5 separate regions of the Homo sapiens genome follow, and regions 2, 3, 4 and 5 are each linked to region 1. The links are contacts of gene promoters, found by promoter capture Hi-C in blood cells and fetal thymus (Javierre and others, 2016). All regions are on one chromosome and are shown on one strand. The core of a region is centred on a gene start or on the middle of the fragment in contact, and the rest is flanking DNA. Distances in the headings are between cores, read along the strand shown. Region 1 holds the start of TMEM127 (transmembrane protein 127). Region 2 has its middle 5.9 kb from the start of LMAN2L. Region 3 overlaps LMAN2L (lectin, mannose binding 2 like). Region 4 overlaps FER1L5 (fer-1 like family member 5). Region 5 has its middle 40 kb from the start of ARID5A.

Region 1 (3,720 bases), core at 798-3,297:
CCTCTGTCGTGTGCATAACTTTGGCTTTAATGAGCCAACCCAGCAAAGAGTACCATTAAGGTGAAATCTGGAAACAACCAGTTGTCCCCAACCTTCTACAAAATCACCCTACAGCTTCTAAAACTCAAGAGAGATGCAAAACAGTAAGAGAACACTCAGAGAAAGGCAACATTTGGCCACAAGGATGAGGCTTTTCAGCCTAGACCTGCAGAAGCAGAGTATGGTCCGATGCACAGCGGGGAACTTGGACCTTTTCACCAAATCCCAGTGCCTGAATTCTTCAGGAGGTAACACGCAGATATCTAACAGGAAGTGCTTCTGATAGGCGGTGCAGTAAACATCTGGAATGCATCACAGCCAGGGAATAGCACAGACAGGATAGCACAGAGAGGATATAAGACCTTCAAGATGGCTCAAAAGACCTTGGGGTTGATGAACTATGCTGTTACTAAGGACTGTTTGGGGTACATTGATCATTGTTAGGGTAAAAAGCAGGTGATACAGTCCAGTCCTGTCCTCACACTTCACAATTTTTACTGGAGACAAGAATGGGCAGGATAAACTATGGGGCCCATAGGACCCTCCCATCGTCTGCTGTCTATCTGGCCGGAAAGCATGATGATGAACAAAGCAACCTTGCCTCTGTCAGGCACACCTATAATGGTTCCAAGAGCCACATTCCGACTGTTGTACTGCGGGTGGCAATGGAACGGTCTTCCGATTACCTAAAATGCCACAGATTCCCTTCTTCTCTAATACGCATCCGATTACCATAGAACTCTAAGATATCTTTTAAAACCTAGTCATATTAAAAGTTCCTTTTTCTCCATTAATCAGTCTGCCCCAAAGAAGCTTTTCCGTATTTCACAGGATCCTTAGAAGAGGCCAGCTAACTGTGATACCTAGCACCCTTATCTTTTCTCGATACACAGCGTCCTTCCTCCAGCAGAATCCTAAAATAGCAGCAGTCCGGATTAACATGGCTGTGAGGAGTAGGTGCTTAGCTGAATAACATCAGAATTAATGAGGGGCCGGACCCCAAACAGAGCCACCTGGTGGGCATGAACACCAGGCAGTTATGGGGCCGTTTCCTTCAACCAAGTGTCTGGTCCCTGGCTATCTCTGCTTCAGCCAGAACACATTCTGTCCCCCACCGAGGCTTTAAGGGCCAGCGCGCAGCACCCTCACCTTTCAGCAGGTCCGGGTGCACATAGCCCAACACGTCGGAGACCCCCAGCTCCTGGCGCGAACAGGTGCCTCCGTGGATGTGCAACCAGGCGGGCTCGGCGAGGGCAGTGCACAGCGCCGTGATAGACAGGGCGCCAGGCAGGGCCGAGGCCAGGCTACGCTCCGGCTGCTTGGGCAGAGCGCTGCCTCCCGGGCTCCTCCGCCGGCGCCCGCCGGGCAGCCCTGCGCCTCCGGGGGCGTACATGCCCGGGGCCGCCCGCCGTCGCTCCGCAGTCGCTGCTGGTCGCCGCCGACCTCCGCGGGGCGCGCAGAGCCTGACAGTCCGGTGGAGGATAGCAACGCTCCGGGTTCGCTGCAGGTGAAGCCGGGACTGGGCTGTCAGGGTTGACACCAGAGGATAGGGGGGTGGGACCCGGGGCTGACGGAGACGGGGAGGGCTGCGGGAATTCGGGGGGCGGAGACAGGAGACTCCGGAATGGGACTGCGGGACGACAACCGAAGAGGGCCAGGGGCCAGATGGGGTCTGGGCAGACTCGAGTGGGGGGCGGAGGGATCGGGGATCGGCTACTGCTAGAGCAAAGACCCGGAGTCAGGGTCTCAGCCAGAGGATGCCGAGGGGCGGAGGACCGGGCTGGGCCGCGGGGATCGGGGACCCGTGATCTGGGACCGGCGGTTTGGGGTGCGACCTGTGCGCAGAAAAGACCCTCCCCACGCCGCCCACTGTTCCTCACCAGTCAGCAGGCCCCAGGGCTGGGATGGTGCTGCTCAGCCCAGTCACGGGCTTCTCGGCTGCCGGGGGCCGAGCGTTCCCAGGCCCCAATCCCGCAACGCCCGGACAGACCCGGGGCCGATGCACTTCCGGCTTCCTCCTCCTCTGCCTCCGCCTCCTCCGGCTCCCCGCCCCGTCCCCCGCGCGCGTCACAGCCTGGGCGCGCCGCCGGCTCTGCGCAGGGCCTCACGGGACTGGTAGTTCGAGGCGGTCCCGCGATGCTTTCCCTGCCGAGGTGAGGGGAGCGACTACAACTCCCAGAGGGTATGGCGGCCGCAGCAGTGGGCAGTTGAGTTTCCGGGGCGACCCAGGTCCTCCGGCGGAAGCGGGAGCCTCTGTCGGCCGCGGAAGCCTGGAGTGGGCGGTACGCAGACGCGCGCGGTGAGACCCGCTGTCTGCTCAGCGGACTCTGCCCGCCCCCACCTCCCCCTGCGTCGGGCCGACATGAAGGACTCGCTGGTGCTGCTGGGCCGTGTCCCGGCGCACCCGGACTCCCGCTGCTGGTTCCTGGCCTGGAACCCCGCGGGGACCCTGCTGGCCTCGTGCGGCGGCGACCGGAGAATCCGCATCTGGGGCACGGAGGGTAAGGCCCAGCCTGGTTGCGCGGCCCTCAGCGCTGAGGGCTCAGCCTGCGCGTAGTGCAGGCGCTCAGCCTGCAGGGGAGGCTGAACCTGTTCCTGGCGGAGGGAGAGTGGGATGTTAGCCACGCCGAGAAGGGCTTTACAGGCAAAGAAGTCTGCGACTGTTGGGAGGAAAAACGTCAGCAGACAAGCTGAAATGTCAAGGGAATTGTGTTAGCTGCAGAGGCAGGAAAATGGGAAAAGAGAGGTGTTAGGAAAGTGGCCTTCAGAGTAACTTGCGACTGGATGGTCACATTTTATCCCGAGGGCATTGGGGAACCAATAGCAATTTTAGATCAGATTTGTTTTAGAAAGATGCCTCCAGAGGTTGGGCGCGGTGGCTCACGCCTGTAATCCTAGCAGTTTGGGAAGCAGAGGCGGGTAGATCACCTGAGGTCAAGAGGTCAAGACCAGCCTGGCCAACATGGTGAAACCCCGTCTCTACTAAAACTACAAAATTAGCTGGGCGTTGTGGCGGGCACCTGTAATCCCAGCTACTCGGGAGGCTGAGGCAGGAGAATCCCTTGAACCCAGGAGGCGAAGATTGCAGTGAGCCGAGATTGTGCCATTGCACCCCAGCCTGGGCATCAGAGCAAAAACTCCGTCTCAAAAAAAAAAAAAAAAAAAAAAAAAAGCTTCCAGACGAAGTAGATTCATTTGCATCTTTGTAAAAGCTGTGAAATACACTCCCTGAGCTTTCCCCCACTAGCTTGATTCCAGTGCTAGCCCCTGATATTGAATGGCTTCATGGTGCTGCACCCAGCTCCAGAGCCTGGCCTGCGCTCCGCCTTTAGGTGACAGCTGGATCTGCAAGTCTGTCCTTTCTGAAGGCCACCAGCGCACCGTGCGGAAGGTAGCCTGGTCCCCCTGCGGTAATTACCTGGCCTCTGCCAGCTTTGATGCTACCACTTGCATTTGGAAGAAGAACCAGGATGACTTTGAGGTACCCAGGCTGGTTGGGACCAGAATTATTGCCTGTTTCCTCCCCAGGGCTGGTTCAGGAACCTGAGCCAACCTGCGCCAGTTGGGCTGTACCCATGGGAAGGGGCTTAGGGGTGTTAGCTGCTGTTAATTCTCATTTTCTTTCCCCTTTCACAGTGTGTAACCACTCTCGAGGGCCATGAAAATGAGGTCAAGTCAGTG
Region 2 (3,720 bases), core at 790-3,289, 480 kb after region 1:
CACCTGTAGTCCCAGCCACTCGGGAGGTTGAGGCAGGAGAATCGCTTGAACCCAGGAGGAAGAGGTTGCAGTGAGCCAAGATCATGCCACTGCACTCGAGCCTGAGCAACAGAGTGAGACTCCATCTCAAAAGAAAAAAAAAAGGAAAGGAAGGACAGGCGGGGCTCGGTGGCTCACACCTGCAATCCCAGCACTTTGGGAGGCCGAGGTGGGGGTGGAGGGCGGAATCATTTGAGGTCAGGAGTTCGAGACCAGCCTGGCCAACATGGTGAAACCCTGTCTCTACTAAAAATACAAAAATTAGCCAGGCATGGTGCCTGTAATCCCAGCTACTTGGAAGGCTGAGGCAGGAGAATTGCTTGAACCCAGGAGGCGGAGGTTGCAGTGAGCCGAGATCACGCCATTGCACTCCAGCCTGAGCAACAAGAGTGAAACTCCATCTCAAAGCAAAACAAAAGGAAGGAGACCTGGGGTAATCCAGGTAAACAAGGGATCTTTCGTGAGAGGAAGGATGGAGAGGGTCTTATCTGAGTCACTGAGGAAGGGTGGAAGTGGGTCTTATCTTGGGATATTCCAGAGCAGGGTAGTCCGTTAAGACAGCCATCTCTCAGCTGGGCGCAGTGGCTCATGCCTGTAATCCCAGCGCTTTGGGATGCTGAGGCGGACAGATCATATGTCAGGAGTTTAAGACCAGCCTGGCCAACAAACATGGTGAAACCCTGTCTCTACTAAAAATACATAAAAAATTTGCCGGGCATCATGGCACGTGTGTGTAATCCCAGCTACTTGGGAGGCTGAGATATGAGAATCTCTTGAGCCTGGGAGGCAGAGGTTGCAGTGAGCCAAGATCGCGCCACTATACTCCAGCCTGGACAACGGAGTCTACAAAGTGAGATGGAAGGAAGACAAAAGGATGGGGAATTTCTTTACTGTAGGTGCTTTTCAGAAGCACAAGCTTCAGCTAAGTTCAACACAGTCAAGGTGTTGAGGGGTGGTAGTGGGAAAGAGAACAAGTAGCCATGGCCCCTTCAACGCCACCTTTTACTCACACGCAGAGGCACCTCCGAAAGCTGGCTCAGGTCTTGCGCTACCATCCTTTCAGCTGCCTAGTGGTCCCCTTTTTCTCTGTGGAATCATCTATCTCCCACGATCTAGGGCTGCACAACTTCAGGGCCGGGGTATTCATATGCAATGTGAGTTGTGCATTCCAGCAGTTCTGCATGATTCCTCTACCTTCCTGTCTTCCAAACCAAAGAGCAGGGCTGGGCGCAGTGGCTCATGCCTGTAATTCTAGCACTTTGGGAGGATCGCTTGAGCCCAGGAGTTCAAGATCAGCCTGGGCAAGATGTTGAGACCCTGTCCCTTTTAAAAAATTAAAAACAACAACAACCAAAGAAGTACCTCCACTCAGGAGCACCTTGAAGCCTGATGCCCCTTCACCCCATGACAGAGGCTCCAGGGCAGCCTCTTGGCCTATTCTTTCCACTGCTTCTCACCCTTCTTTTACAAACCTTGCCATTCAATTCTGATCCACCCCCTCCCAGGACAGAAGCAGCCCTCCCTAGGCCAAGTACAACCATCCATCCATCCTCAGGTATCCAGTGTGTCAGGTCCATCTTCAGCCCAATAGTCACAGCTGACCGGGTCCTACCAACTGTACCTCCAGTTCCCCAGGTAGCCACTGAAGCATACAAGAGGATAGCAGCTCCAACACTAACTAGCTAGCTACTTCCCAGCGGTGACTTCTCAACATTGGACTCCTGAAAGCCACAGTCAAATATCCTGGGGTAGGTACCTTTGCCTGAGCCCTACTGCCAGACACGTGACTCAACAAGTGTAGGGATTTAGCTTTGAAGAAAAAAAAATAAAACCTGGAGAATTTAATTTTTTTTTTTGAGAGAGAGTCTCACTCTATCACCCAGTGGAGGGCAGTGGTGTGATCACAGCTCACTGCAACCTCTGCCTCCCAGGCTCAAGCCATCCTCCCACCTCAGCCTCCTGAGTAGCTGGGACCACAGGCACATGCCACCACACCCAGCTAAATTTTATATTTTTTGTAGAGACGGGGTTTCACCATGTTGGCCAGGCTGGTCTCGAACTCCTGGGTTCAAGCAATCCGCCCACTTCAGCGTCCCAAAGTACTGGGATTACAGGCGTGAGCCACCATGCCTGGCCTTTTTTTTTTTCTTTTAAGAGATGGGGTCTTGTTCTGTCACCCAGGCTAGAGTGCAGTGGTGTGAACTGCAGCCTCAAACTCCTGGGCTCAAGGGATTCTCCTGGCTCAAACTCCTGGGCTCAAGGGATCCTCCTGCCTTAGCCTTCTGAGTAGTTGGAATACAGTCAGGTGTCACCATGCCTGGCTATTATTTTATTTTTTGTAGAGATAATGTCTTGCTATTTGCCCAGGCTGGTCTTGAACTCCCGGGCTCGAGGCATCCTACTACCTTGGCCCTCGAAAGTGTTGGAATTATAGGCATGAGCCATCGTGCCCACCCCACCCTCCACCAGAGAATTTAATACGCAGCCCAGTTTTCAGAACTACAGCCCTTTCACATGCAGTATCTCATTTTGACCTCACAATGACTTGTTGTGGTAATCTTTAAGATTAGGACAGGCTGGGCTCAGTGGCTCACACCTGCAGTACGAGCACTTTGGAGGCCGAGGCAGGAGGATCACTTGAATTCAGGAGTTTGACACCAGCCTGGGCAACATAGTAAGACCCCGTCTCTAAAAAATACAAAAAATACAAAAAATTGTCTGGGTGTGCTAGTGTGCGCCGGTAGGCCCAGCTACTTGGGAGGCTGCGACATTTTACCCCGGGGGTCAAGGCTGTAGTGAGCCATGATCAGGCCACTCCACTCCAGCCTGGGTGACAGAGAAAGACCCTATCTCTTAAAAAAAAAAAATGACAAGAACAGTTCATAGAGGCTCCAACTCCTGAATTTAAAGATAAGAATTAAAGATTTGCTTTAAGATACTCTAGAGGAATATCGTGTGTGTGTGTTTAGAAGGGTAGGATGGATAAACAAAAAAAGCATCAGGATGTTGAGAACTGCTGCAGCTGAGATAGGGGTGCACAACACTCCCTCCAGCTTCATGGATGTGTGAGAGTTGCCGTAAGGAAAAGCTTCTCAAAGTCTCCCGTGGAGATGATGAGGAAATATGCTGGGTATGCATTTGTGGTGTTTTCTAAATTTCCCTGAGGGAAGGAAAACTGTAATTAACTATAATCTAGTAAAGTTCATTGTGACCCATCCAATATAATGTTGTCATAACTAAAGAGAGAGGCGTCTGCAATCTAGAAAAAGAACAGTCAAGGGATGAAAATAAGTCAGAGTTGTATCAGTTCTGTCCAGGAAAGAGAGTGCTTCTAAGCAGCCTGTGTTAGATCTCCATATAACTTTATTCAAATAAAGCCTATTTTCTGAGCGTATTTATAAAGACTTCCAGCCTAACGTTCTAATCCTCTTAGCAGTTTAATTTTTCTGTATAAATTAAGAAATTAGTGTGTATTTGGGTTTATCACTTAGTTATTAGTTTAGCCAGAGTGACTTAGCCCTCCCAGTCTGTTTATTTGCAGGGGAATTGATAAAAACCAGTATCCTGAGGACCAGATCTCAGATCTATGGTGGCTCTCCTTGCAGTGGCAGAGCTCCCACAATTCAGCAATGCCTCTGGGGATCCAGATGCTTGCTTCCCACAGAGTTAGGGCATAAGATT
Region 3 (3,720 bases), core at 494-2,993, 450 kb after region 1:
AATCTCTCTGCATGACAGAAAGCAGATCAATGGTTGCCTGGAATCCAAGAAGGGGAGGAATACTGCAAAGGGGGATAATAAGGCTTTTGGCAGGTGATGGAAACATTCATATCTTAATTGTGATGGTGACTACATAGGTGTAAATATTTGTCAAAACTCTTCAAACTGTATTCTTCTGTTGTATGGAAAGCACACCTCAGTAAAGTTGATTTTAAAAAAATCAGATGCCAGAGTTTTAAAGATCAGCAGATTGCATTTTAAAAATCCAGATTATCCAGGCTGGGCTCAGTGGCTCATGCCTGTAATCCCAGCACTTTCGGAGGCCAAGGCGGGCGGATCACAAGGTCGAGATGGAGACCATCCTGGCCAACATGGTGAAACCCCGTTTCTACTAAAAATACAAAAATTAGCTGGGCGTGGTGGCGCGCCTGTAGTCCCAGCTACTTGGGAGGCTGAGGCAGGAGAATCGCTTGAATACAGGAGGTGGAGGTTGCAGTGAGCTGACATGGCGCCACTGCACCCCAGCCTGGCGACAGAGCGAGACTCCATATATATATATAAAAAAAAATCCAGAATTCCAACTGCTCTTGAAAAACTGGAAGATTTAGCCTCACTGAGCTGACATTTCCTTTTAGCTACAATGGCTGGAGCTCACTAGCTGTCGGCTTTTTCAGATGGGTATCTGCCTTTCTATTTTGCCACAAGAAACTTCTATTCCAAACTAGCTTTATCCAGAACAAATTATATTAATCAAAAGAAACAGAAGTTCAGTTCCTTTTCTCTTCCCAAAAGATGTTATGATTGGGGTTCAAGCAAAGAGAGTAAGTGTATAAACGAGAAGCTACGAATCAGGCATAAGTAGAAAAAGAAACAAGAGGAGATGGAAAAGTAAAAGAACCAGGTGCTGTTAATGTCACATAAGTCAAGAAGGCAAGAGTTTCAGGGTAATGGGTTAAATGAGCTGAGGAGGACAAAGGGTGAGAACGAGAATAGAGTACTGAATATGGCAAGGAAACAGAATGACCTTTCATGAGAATGGTGTTAGTGTACTAGCAAGATAGAGCACAGGTCTGAGTCAGCATGTTAAGGAGGTGGACAGCTAGGAAACAAAAGGATCTGTACACACAACACATTCAAAAGTCTCAGCAAAAGGAGAGTCTGGGGTCAGAAGAGGGACGGCAAAGTCAAGGAAAAGCTTTGTTAAGGAAGGGGAACGGGGAACATTAGTGGTTGGAAGGAGAGGAGCCTGACAGCAGAAATCAGAAAGCAAGGAACTCACGATACAGGCTAGAAGAGCCAGCTTAATGAAGGGACAAACACTGCTTTCTATTAGCACCAACCATCTTCTAGTGACAACTGTACTAGGAAAGCCTGGCGTGGGTTTTTAAGGAATGTGGATATAAGAATGCAGAAGGAGAAGCAGTCTTGAGGCACCTCCTTCCAGAGCACCGCTCCTCTGGCTCTCCCCTGTGAGAGGCCTCAATGAAGTGTGGGTATTGAGAAGAGGCCTCAGTCAGGGCAAACCAAGAGTGCGCGTGGCAGTACCTGAGAGATCCCCAGTGATGGAGGAGGTGCCGAAGTAGTAGCCGCGGGGCAGGCGGACTCCGGGCACTTCAATGCAGTCCCTCCACTCATGCTTGCCATCAATATCCATCATTATCTAGAATAAAAAGAGAGATAAATCAGGGTCAGGCCATGGGAGCAAGAGCGACACAGCCCACACCACCATCTGGTCCAGGACAAGGACTCTCACCGTCAAATGCCTCTTGACGTAGCGAATCACCAGGAAGGTGTCGTAATGAAGATTGCGGACAATGGCTGTGCAGCCTCCCAGCTCTGTAGGCCGCCCATCCCGCTCATGATCATAGCTGAGGGAGCCGTTGTTCACCATGGCTGAGATGTAGGGGAATACCCGCTGGAAAGCAGAGAGGGGGAAGCAGACACTAAGGAAGAGCACATAGGAACGCCTGTACAAACAGCAACAGGAATTCAGCACATACAAGTTGAGCCCCTTACAGCAGAATAGGCAGCCACTCGACCTCATTGTCAGCAGCCCCTGAGAGCCCACATTCAGATGGTCTCTCAAGGGAAATGGGCCCAGGAAGCGACTACACTTGGTATTTGCCTTCAGTAATTCTCTTGGCTCCTGAACTGGGGTGGGCCTGAAGTGGTCCTCCTAAGACGCTGGAGTCTGACTTGAATGCCCCAAGGTCACCATTTGGCACTTATGTGCCGCCTAATACCAGGGGTTTCCTTTTCGTGTATATGTACCTATCTCCCCAACTGCCACATAAGCTTCTTGAAGAAAAAATTCATTCATCACGTCTTCATATGTCTAAACTTCAGCCCCATCTCCTCCCAACCATGGTTCTGCACACAGCGGGTATTCTGAAAATACCTGTTTGAGCAGGGGAATCTTTCCATTCAGGATAGCTCTTTTCAATTCTAAAATTCTATAAGCATATAAGGCTAAATGGATTAGAACTCAGAACATGGAACGGGGTTGCTGGATGGGCTCAGCCAGCCACAATGACTGTCCTTAGTCAAAAGACTTTCCAGCCCACTTAAGCCTCCTCCACACGTAACTTCTCCGAATAATAATAAGAGGGCAAGGTTCTCCCTTAACAGGGAGAAAATTGCAAGTTTTCCCATAAGCCACTCATTTTCCCATCTATTTCAGGGGCCCTCTCTCCCCAGTAGAGTTGTAGGAGCAATTCTTCCTTAGAAATGGCGAACTAATCATTCCAGAACAAGCCCAATGCCAAGGCAGTGCAAAAAGGCAGGGTAGTGAGGTGGTGAAGGGGTAACATGAGGCATGCCACTCCTTTGGGGAGTATTTGTCCCTTTGTCCCAAATGGTTAACATGCAAGATGGAGATGCAGTCGAGACCAGAGACCGGGGACTCCTGAGACAACCACATGGACTTGAAACAGCAACAAATGTTGGATGGACACATGGGAATGAGGGATGCTCATGATGAGCCAAGAACTGAGTACCTGGACTCCTGGAGAATATCGCCTCTTCTGGGCCTGAGAGGGTCCAGCAGGTTATGATAAAAACAAGAGAGGGCACAGAAGACAGGAGACCAAGTCAGAAAGACACAGCCACAGAAGAGCTATGACCCAGCTGTGATGGATGAACAAACCAACTTAAATCCCCAAACAGAATTTTAGGGTCCCTGAAGGGCATCCGTGAAGTCTTTGCACCCTCAAGATGATAGGCAAAACCATATGCACGGGTGCTTGTACATTTTTCTGAGGAGAGGGTCTGTTACTATATCAGATTCTCAAAGGGGTCCCCTAGGAAGACCGCTCTAACCCATAGAGGGTCCTGAAGCTTTTGGAAGGCACTTTATAAAACACATAGCAGTACGCTGTCCAGGCACGCCGCACTTATGTCTCTGGGAGTCAGTCTCAAGTTTGTCTGTACCCAGCCTACTGTATTTCTATAGCAAGGGGAAAGAGGAGACAACAGGGCTAAATTCTTCCAAATTCAAGACATCCTTTACTATCCAGGATCTCAGGAAACAGCTCCTGCCCAGAAGACCAAAATCTTGCCACTTGAGAGACTATGAAACTAACTCTAATCCAAAGGGATCACTTACCCTCTAACTGAGCCTTATGGTCATATATTCCCAAATAACTATTGTCATTCTAACCTACCACACATAGGCAAGGAAGAAGCTCCATGGAGGCATTGCAGAATGACAGATTTAGAAAA
Region 4 (3,720 bases), core at 514-3,013, 390 kb after region 1:
TTTACTGAGTGTCTACTGAGGGCCAAGCACTGAAAATACAGAACAGTATAACTCAGAGCCCTGTATCTGAGGAGCTGGTGGGCTGGTGGGGGCACAACTCATGAATCCGTAAACAATTACAACAGAGCAGATCCTGGTTTACAGAGGTCTGGGAGTATTGCTATTGGAGGTTCGAAGCACAGACCCAGACCATGTATGTCTCATTGCTGCTGGAGCCCCAAATTGTAGCACTGTGCCTGATACACAGTAGGTGCTCCATAAATACTTGTTGAATTAATTAGTAAATGAACAAATAAAAGATAAAAGCACAGTGGAAGCTGGAAGGAGTAAGTGAGTAATGAGGCTGGGGGTGGCGGAGAGGACTCAGAAGGGCTCCAGCAACCCTGAAGGAAGATTTTACCAGGGAAAGACAGACAGGATGGGAAAAGATAATTCAGGAAAAAGTCATGGTGTTTTCAAAGGCCTGGAACCAAGCAAGCCGCAGACTTGACAGCAGAACTATAGCTATGGGTGTGGCTGGAGGAGACTGGCTGGAGGGGAGCCTACAGTGTGGGCTGGGGTCCCATCCTGGACACTACTCAGGAGCCATGGAGGACTTAAGCAGAGGAGTGACAGGCCTAGGTTTGCATTTGGGAAAGAAGTTTCTGGCTGCCACGGGGAGCAGGGACAGAGTGGACTGGCAGGGCAACCTAGAAGGAGGTGTGGGCTCAAATCTCCATCCTGGGCAGCTAGCTGGGCCCTGAGTTCTCCAGGAATCTCCTACCATTCCCCATTCTGGGCAGAAAACCCTCCAGGAGGCTGGGCTTGGTGGCTCATGCCTGTAATTCCAGAACTTTGGGAGACCGTGGTGAGTGGATCACCTGAGGTCCGGAGTTCGAAACCATCCTGACCAATATGGTGAAACCCTGTCTCTTTTGTAAAAATACAAAAATTAGCCACATGCAGTGGCAGGTGCCTGTAATCCCATCTACTCAGGAGGCTGAGGCAGGAGAATCGTTTGAACCCGAGGTTGCAGTGAGTTGAGATTGCACCACCACACTCCAGCCTAGGTGACAGAGCGAGACTCCGCCTAAAAATAGGAAACCCTCTAGGAGCCCGGGAGGCCTCTGCTTCTGGGGGAGCATGAGAGAAGTGGCACAAGTTGAGTATCCCTTACCCAAAATGCATGGTATCAGAAGTGTTTTGGATTTCAGATTTTTTTTGGGAATCTGGAATATTTGCATTGTACCAGTTCAGCATTCGTAATAATGAAAATCTGAAACCCAGAATGCTCCAGTGAGCATTTCCTTTGAGGGTCATGTTGGCACTCAGAAAGTTTCAGATTTTGGAGCATTTTTTATTTCAGATTTTTGGATTAGGAATACTCAGCCTGTACTTGTAAACCCATTGAAATGGGTAAAGTTGTGGAAAGAAGCACATTATTCTGAGCTTTCAGGTTTACTGAGTGCTTGGGTGAAGTGGCGGAAGAAATCATCCACTCTACCCCAATTCTCTTTGCCTCAGATCTTCTTCCAGAATTTTCATGAGGTTCCTGCAAAGTTCTTTGATGAGACCATCTTAATCCAGGTGAGGAGCCAAACTGGTCCCCAGCAAGGTGGGTTTCTTGTCCCACTTCAATACTGGGAAGCACTACAGCTCCAGCCCCCACCCTTAGAGCCAGGGGCACTTCAGATTGTCTTCCTGATCCCCACCACTTTCTTCACCCCCTGGCACCCAGATTATTCATTCATTTACTCATTTATTCAACAAATGTTGTGGATTGCCAACTGCCAGGCCCTGAACTGGGCGCCAAGGTGAACAAGGCAGCCCCTTCCCATGTGCCAGGATTTTCAAGCCACCAAAGGCCCCTCCAAGTAGAATACTCCATTCCCTAACCAAAGGGAGCCAGTAACAATGTGGAACATGTGGTTATCAGGTGCCTACTATGTGCCCAGCACAGGGCTAAGGAGAACAAAGAGGCCTCTTCCTTTGAAGAATTTACTGTTCTTGGGAACAAAGGCACAGAGGAAACAACCAGGAGAGCATGTAATGGATAACGTTGAGTGCAACACCTTGCTTTGTGTTGACTTGGGGCAAGGAAATTGACCTCTCTGATCAATTTCCTCATCAGTAAAATGGAATTAAAAATCTGAACCTCACAGGGTTCCTCTGAGAGTGAAATGAGAACACCCATGTGCAAGTGTCTGCCCCATTAGGAAGCATTCAATACGTCAGGAGGATCCTGGTTGTGCCTTTGCTATACCTCTTACAGGGGCTGAGGGAAATTGGGATTGTGAATAATTAAAATATTTCTGGGAACTCCCTTGCAGGTGGTGAACTCCTCAGCAATGAGATACAAAGCAGAGATCGGGAGATTTCAAGTGAGTACTGTACATGGGAGGAGGTTCAGTGAAACAGTTATTAAAACAGAGACCCATGCTGGGCTCCATGCCCAAGTCTAGGGAAAAGGACTTGGATTTTCACACAGAAAGATCCAGACTTGGCCGGGTGCAGTGGCTCGCACCTGTAATCCCAGCACTTTGGGAGGCCGAGGCCGGTGGATCACGAGGTCAGGAGATCGAGACCATCGTGGCTAACACAGTGAAACCCTGTCTCTACTAGAAATACAAAAAATTAGCGGGGTGAGGTGGCGGGTGCCTGTAGTCCCAGCTACTCAGGAGGCTGAGGCAGGAGAATTGCTTGAACCCAGGAGGCGGAGCTTGCAGTGAGCCGAGACCGCACCACTGCACTCCAGCCTGGGCGACAGGGTGAGACTCCATCTCAAAAAAAAAAAAAAAAAAAAGAAGAAGAAAGATCCAGGCTTGTATCCACCTACCAACTGGGTGACTTAAACAAGTTATTCTGAACCTCTACTTCCTCATCTTTAAAAGGGAGATGATAATATACTCGATCTGGGGGGTGATTGTGAGGATTAAAGTATATATAACGTTTATGAAAGCTCAGGGCGCCATGTTGAATTCCACACTCCCATGATACTGTGGACACAGTTCAAATCTCTGCCTCCAGGAAGTAGAAGCAGAGGATCCAAAAGGTCAGCCTACATGTTAGGGAAACTCAGAGAAATATTGCTGCCTGTGAGGACAGAGTGAAAAGATGTGATTTGGGAAGACAGGCTGAGAGATTAGGAGAGTTTACAGTCATGATGGGCTAAACTAAGATTCTCCAAATCCAAAAAGATCAGGAAAAGGTAGGTTGCTAGGTTAAATACAGGATGCCTGGTTACATTTAATCTTAGATAAACAAAAAATACATTTTAAATATAAGTATGTCCCAAATATTACATGGCTTCTCACCAAATATTGCAGGGGACGTATGTGTATTAAGAAAGTAGTCATTGTTCATCTGAAATTTTAATTTAAGTGGGCATCTTCTGTTTTTGTTTACTAAATCTACAATGTTAGGAAACGGGCACCACCCTTGGAAAAAAACATAGAGAGACAGAGATTCTAGAAATGTTAGATGGTAGGAGGTGAAAAATGTTGTGCTCTTGACAAAGGCCACCGCATGATTTCTAGACAGTGACCAATGACATAAGCTAAGTTATAGAGGTCAGAGAAAACCTGAGTTTAACCAAGCTTCTTCTTTTTTTTTGAGACGTGATCTTGCTTTGTCACCCAGGCTGGATTGCAGTGGTGCAATCCCGGCTCACTGCAGCCTTGAACTCCTGGGCTCAAGCAATCCTCCCACCTCAGCCTCCCGAGTAGCTTGGACTACAGGTGT
Region 5 (3,720 bases), core at 913-3,412, 310 kb after region 1:
TTTCTGCTTTGTGATATGCTTCCCTGTGGGTCTTTGCTAATAGAGGCCACCAGAGGGAGGCTGCAAAGATGGAGGAGTGAGAAGGGACTTGCATCTTCTACTCCACTTCTCATAGGCTTCTCCTCCCTGTTCCTGTGTTACCGATGAGCAGGCGATAAATGGACTGAGTCCAAATTTGAACTACAGTGGACCCAGGACATCTGTAGATCCATGCCTGTGGTTGAATTCCCAGTTCCTGAATGTATAATCGGCATAGATATACTGGCAACTGGCTGAATCCCTCTACGCTGGCTTACAGTAGGAAAGGGCCAAGTGAAGCTCCTGAATAGTAATACTGCATCCAGGGGGAACTGCAGAAACCAGTGCTAATATCAAAGACTTGAAAGTTGGAGGGATGGAAGTACCTATCACATCTCCTTCTAACACACCTTTTGGACTGTGAAGAACATACTTAGATCTTGGGTAATGGCTGTGGATTATCATAAAATTAATCAAGTGGTAGGTCTGACTGCAACTCCTGTTCTGATGTAGTATATTTACTGGAACAAATCAACAAAGCCCCTGACACCTGCCATGCACCTATTGGCCTGGAAAATGTTTTTTCCTCCATTCCCCTTGGTAAGAACCATGAGCTTTTACCTGACAAGACCTTCATAGTATTGTGAATTCTCCTCCTAACATAACACAGTGTGTGGAGATCTTGACATTATACCCATCTGCTAAACTGACATTTATACTGATTGGATGTGATGAGCAGAAAATGCAAAATAGTTTAGATATCTTGGAGGCATGCACGTAAACAGAGGGTGGGAGATAAACCCCATGAAAATTCAAAGGCTTATGATCTCAAAGCTTCCAGAGATCTAGTGTGACGAGCTTGTTAAGATTGCCTCTCCAAGGCAAAAGACAAGTTGCTGTACTTTGCATCACCTACAACTAAAAAATAAAGAAAATCCTTGGTGGATCCTTCTTGGCATTTGGAGGCAATGCATACCAAACTTGAGTGTGTTATTTCAACCCATTTACTGAGTAATCAATTTTGAGCAGAGACTAAAGCAATCTCTTGCTCTGCATCAAGCCCAGGCTGAAGAACAAGCCTTATGACCCCACAGATCCAATGCTAGTAAAAGTGCCTGTGACAAACAGGCTGGTCTGTGGAGCCTGTGACAAGCATTAATAGGACAATCACAGTACAGAACTCTGGAGTGTGGAGGCAAATCCATGCCCTCTTCTCCAAGTAACTAATATCTGTTTGAAAAAGATTCTGCTTTTCTACTGGCCCTTAGTAAAGAATAAACACTGAACCATGAGATATCAAGTAACCTTGTGACCTGAGCTTTCCATCATGAATTTATAGTTATTGACACACCTAGCCACAGATTAGACCTGTGCAGCAAAAATAGAAAAGGCTGGACTCAAGCAGGTCCAGAGGACAGAAGTAAGTCAGACTCCTTCGACACTGACTCTGGCTGCATTGCCTCCTCCCCCTCAATCCTCATCTATGCCTGCTGGGAGTTCCTTATGACTAGGTAGCTGAGAAGGAAATAATCTGGGCTTGATTTGCAGGCAGTTCTCTATATGTTGGAACCAACAGAAAGTGGATGGCAATATTACAATCTCACTTGGGTGTCTCTGAAGGACAGTGATAAACAGAAGACTTCCTATTCAGCAGAACTTGGAGCTGTTTGGTTATCCACTTTGTTTGAACTGAGAGATGACCAGAAGTACAGATCTGCTGACTAAAGGAAGATTTCTAATTAATGACTGGATGGTTATGGAGGGACAAGGGTTGGAACATTGGTGATGAGATCTGGGGAAATTATATAGATAAACTTCTCAAACTGGGCACAAAGGGGAACAGATATTTGGGTCCCAAATATCTGATGTGGATACTCACTGGAAGGCATGCATTACAGAGGCTTGCAACAATGGGCTTGTGGTTCATGAAACTCATTGGTCTTACCAGAGATCCCATCGTGAAGAGGTCAGTCTGAACAGTGGGATGGCCTACTAGATAATTACCTAGGGCACCAGATGGGAGTCAACACCCTGAAAGAATAGGGTTTTATCTTATAGGATGCAATATATCCTTCAAATCAAAGACCTATTCATAGTGCTGTCTCTTCATGGGCCCAGGAAGCAAGAACAGAAAAGAAAGCAGGTCTTCCCACTAGCACACATAATGACCAGTCACTTCTCATCTCCACAATTTTGAGCTCTGCTTGCTTGGAAGGTCTTGGTTCCCAAGGGAGGACTATTTCCACCAGGGACCCAACAATGGCTCCATCAAACTGGAAGCTGAGACTGCCTCCATTTAGACATTTTTGGGTGCCTCATGACATTAAATCAAAAAAGAGCAGTGACTTTGCGGGCTGAAGTGACTGACCCCAATTATCAAGGGAAAATTGGGGTTATTACCACACGATCGTGGCAGAGGACTAGGTCTGGAACCCAGGGGATTTTCTGGGGCTCCAATGAACACTTCTAGCAAAAGTTAGTGCTGGCTTCTCCCCCTGCCACATGCACGAATATTTTCCCTTTTGGCTGTGCATTATTTAGTGGCTTTAGGACTAAACTGCTTAGGAAGAGAGGGAAAAAGACAAACCTACAGATTTGAAATTATTGTCCCTTGTTCCAGTTTTCCCTCTCCTTTGCATCTTTTGCTGCTCACCCTTCCCTGTTCTAACTCTCCACTTTTTTTCCATAGGGACCATCTGGTCTAGAATGACTGCTGACCTAATCTGGAATCAATCTCATTTGGTGCTGGGCATGATCCACATAAGAAGAGTCCCACTCCCCACTGCCTTGGTCTGCTTCTCCACTCTCGGAGAGGGCTCACCATGAGAAGCCCTGGCTTAGATCCTCCAGGACAGGTGCTCTCTAGGGAAGTCTGAACACATGGACCAAGAACCAAGTGGTCAAGCCTGGTTTCCACCTTCCTCAGTAATCACTTTAAGCCTGACAAGTTATGGGAAAATGGGATGCCCAGCATTGCCAGAGCCTACGACACCCATGTAGGAGCCATCTACCCATCCAATTAGCCAGACTGTCAATTCAACATGACATACAATTCTTCCTCAAAACCAGATTTGGTACAGATACTCCCTCTTCCTTGCCTGTTACCACCCATATTTGGCACCTCCCACGTGGTCTCTGGGCACTGTGAGCAAGCACAGTGTGTGCTTTTACAGGCCATTTAGATAAGAGGTTTGCAACCAATCAACCCTTTACCTATCATGGATAGGCCATGAGCTACTATTCAGTTTCCGAGCACAGCAGGCTTACCCACCACAACCCTGAGAGCCAAGTCATTGCGATTAGAGATTGCTTGAGAGTGGGCTTTGCAGTGGACTGCCAGAATTCGGCTATGGTTCTGCCACTTACCAGCTGTGTGATTTGGGCAAGTTACTTAACCTCTCTGTGCCTCAGTTTTTCCCTGAACTATAGAATACCAGTAATGATGGCCTAGGATAAAGCTTGAATGTAAGCATTGTTATTGTTCTCCCTACTTGGGGGAGGAGGGGGTGGGTGGAATCAATGCCAAGATGCAAGCAGGACTCAGAATTAACAAATGACACAGAGACAGAGCTGAGAATGGGGGCCAGGGTCCTAATTCTTTTTTTATTTCTTTTTTTTTTTTGAGACAGGGTCTTGCTCCGTCTCCCAGGATATGGAGTGCAGTAGCTCAATCATGGCTTACCGAAGCTTTGAACTCTCGGG

The links. Contacts are between HindIII fragments. The CHiCAGO score rates a contact against its expected background, and 5 or more counts as called.
Region 2: a contact is called between a fragment that was not itself captured here and the fragment with the promoter of TMEM127 in region 1, in 9 of 17 cell types (monocytes, total B cells, non-activated CD4 T cells and 6 more). The highest score is 8.2, in monocytes.
Region 3: a fragment that was not itself captured here is called in contact with the fragment with the promoter of TMEM127 in region 1 in 1 of 17 cell types (total CD8 T cells); the score reaches 9.1 in total CD8 T cells.
Region 4: a fragment that was not itself captured here is called in contact with the fragment with the promoter of TMEM127 in region 1 in 2 of 17 cell types (monocytes and M0 macrophages); the score reaches 7.0 in monocytes.
Region 5: a contact is called between a fragment that was not itself captured here and the fragment with the promoter of TMEM127 in region 1, in 5 of 17 cell types (total CD8 T cells, naive CD8 T cells, activated CD4 T cells and 2 more). The highest score is 7.6, in total CD8 T cells.

The regions. Positions count from the first base shown.
Region 1 is chr2:96,263,950-96,267,669 of GRCh38, forward strand. It overlaps TMEM127 (transmembrane protein 127), which reads right to left and starts at 2,048. Exons shown (of 4, transcript NM_017849.4): 1 at 1,920-2,048; 2 at 1,189-1,563. The coding sequence starts at 1,432. It overlaps CIAO1 (cytosolic iron-sulfur assembly component 1), which reads left to right and starts at 2,276. Exons shown (of 7, transcript NM_004804.3): 1 at 2,276-2,540; 2 at 3,372-3,520; 3 at 3,676-3,720. The coding sequence starts at 2,402. RefSeq lists silencers at 1,308-1,617, 1,668-1,877, 1,888-1,937 and enhancers at 2,168-2,357, 2,588-2,867, 3,465-3,720. The HindIII fragment of the contact is 2,360 bases long and covers 851-3,210 here.
Region 2 is chr2:96,744,077-96,747,796 of GRCh38, forward strand. No RefSeq gene overlaps it. Among named protein-coding and RNA genes, the nearest start is that of LMAN2L, 5.9 kb to the left of the region's middle. The HindIII fragment of the contact is 2,172 bases long and covers 954-3,125 here.
Region 3 is chr2:96,710,111-96,713,830 of GRCh38, forward strand. It overlaps LMAN2L (lectin, mannose binding 2 like), which reads right to left. Exons shown (of 8, transcript NM_030805.4): 5 at 1,754-1,915; 6 at 1,546-1,660. Among named protein-coding and RNA genes, the nearest start is that of LMAN2L, 28 kb to the right of the region's middle. The HindIII fragment of the contact is 1,100 bases long and covers 1,194-2,293 here.
Region 4 is chr2:96,652,137-96,655,856 of GRCh38, forward strand. It overlaps FER1L5 (fer-1 like family member 5), which reads left to right. Exons shown (of 53, transcript NM_001293083.2): 8 at 1,504-1,566; 9 at 2,310-2,360. Among named protein-coding and RNA genes, the nearest start is that of FER1L5, 11 kb to the left of the region's middle. The HindIII fragment of the contact is 3,620 bases long and covers 1-3,573 here.
Region 5 is chr2:96,574,528-96,578,247 of GRCh38, forward strand. No RefSeq gene overlaps it. Among named protein-coding and RNA genes, the nearest start is that of ARID5A, 40 kb to the left of the region's middle. The HindIII fragment of the contact is 2,624 bases long and covers 851-3,474 here.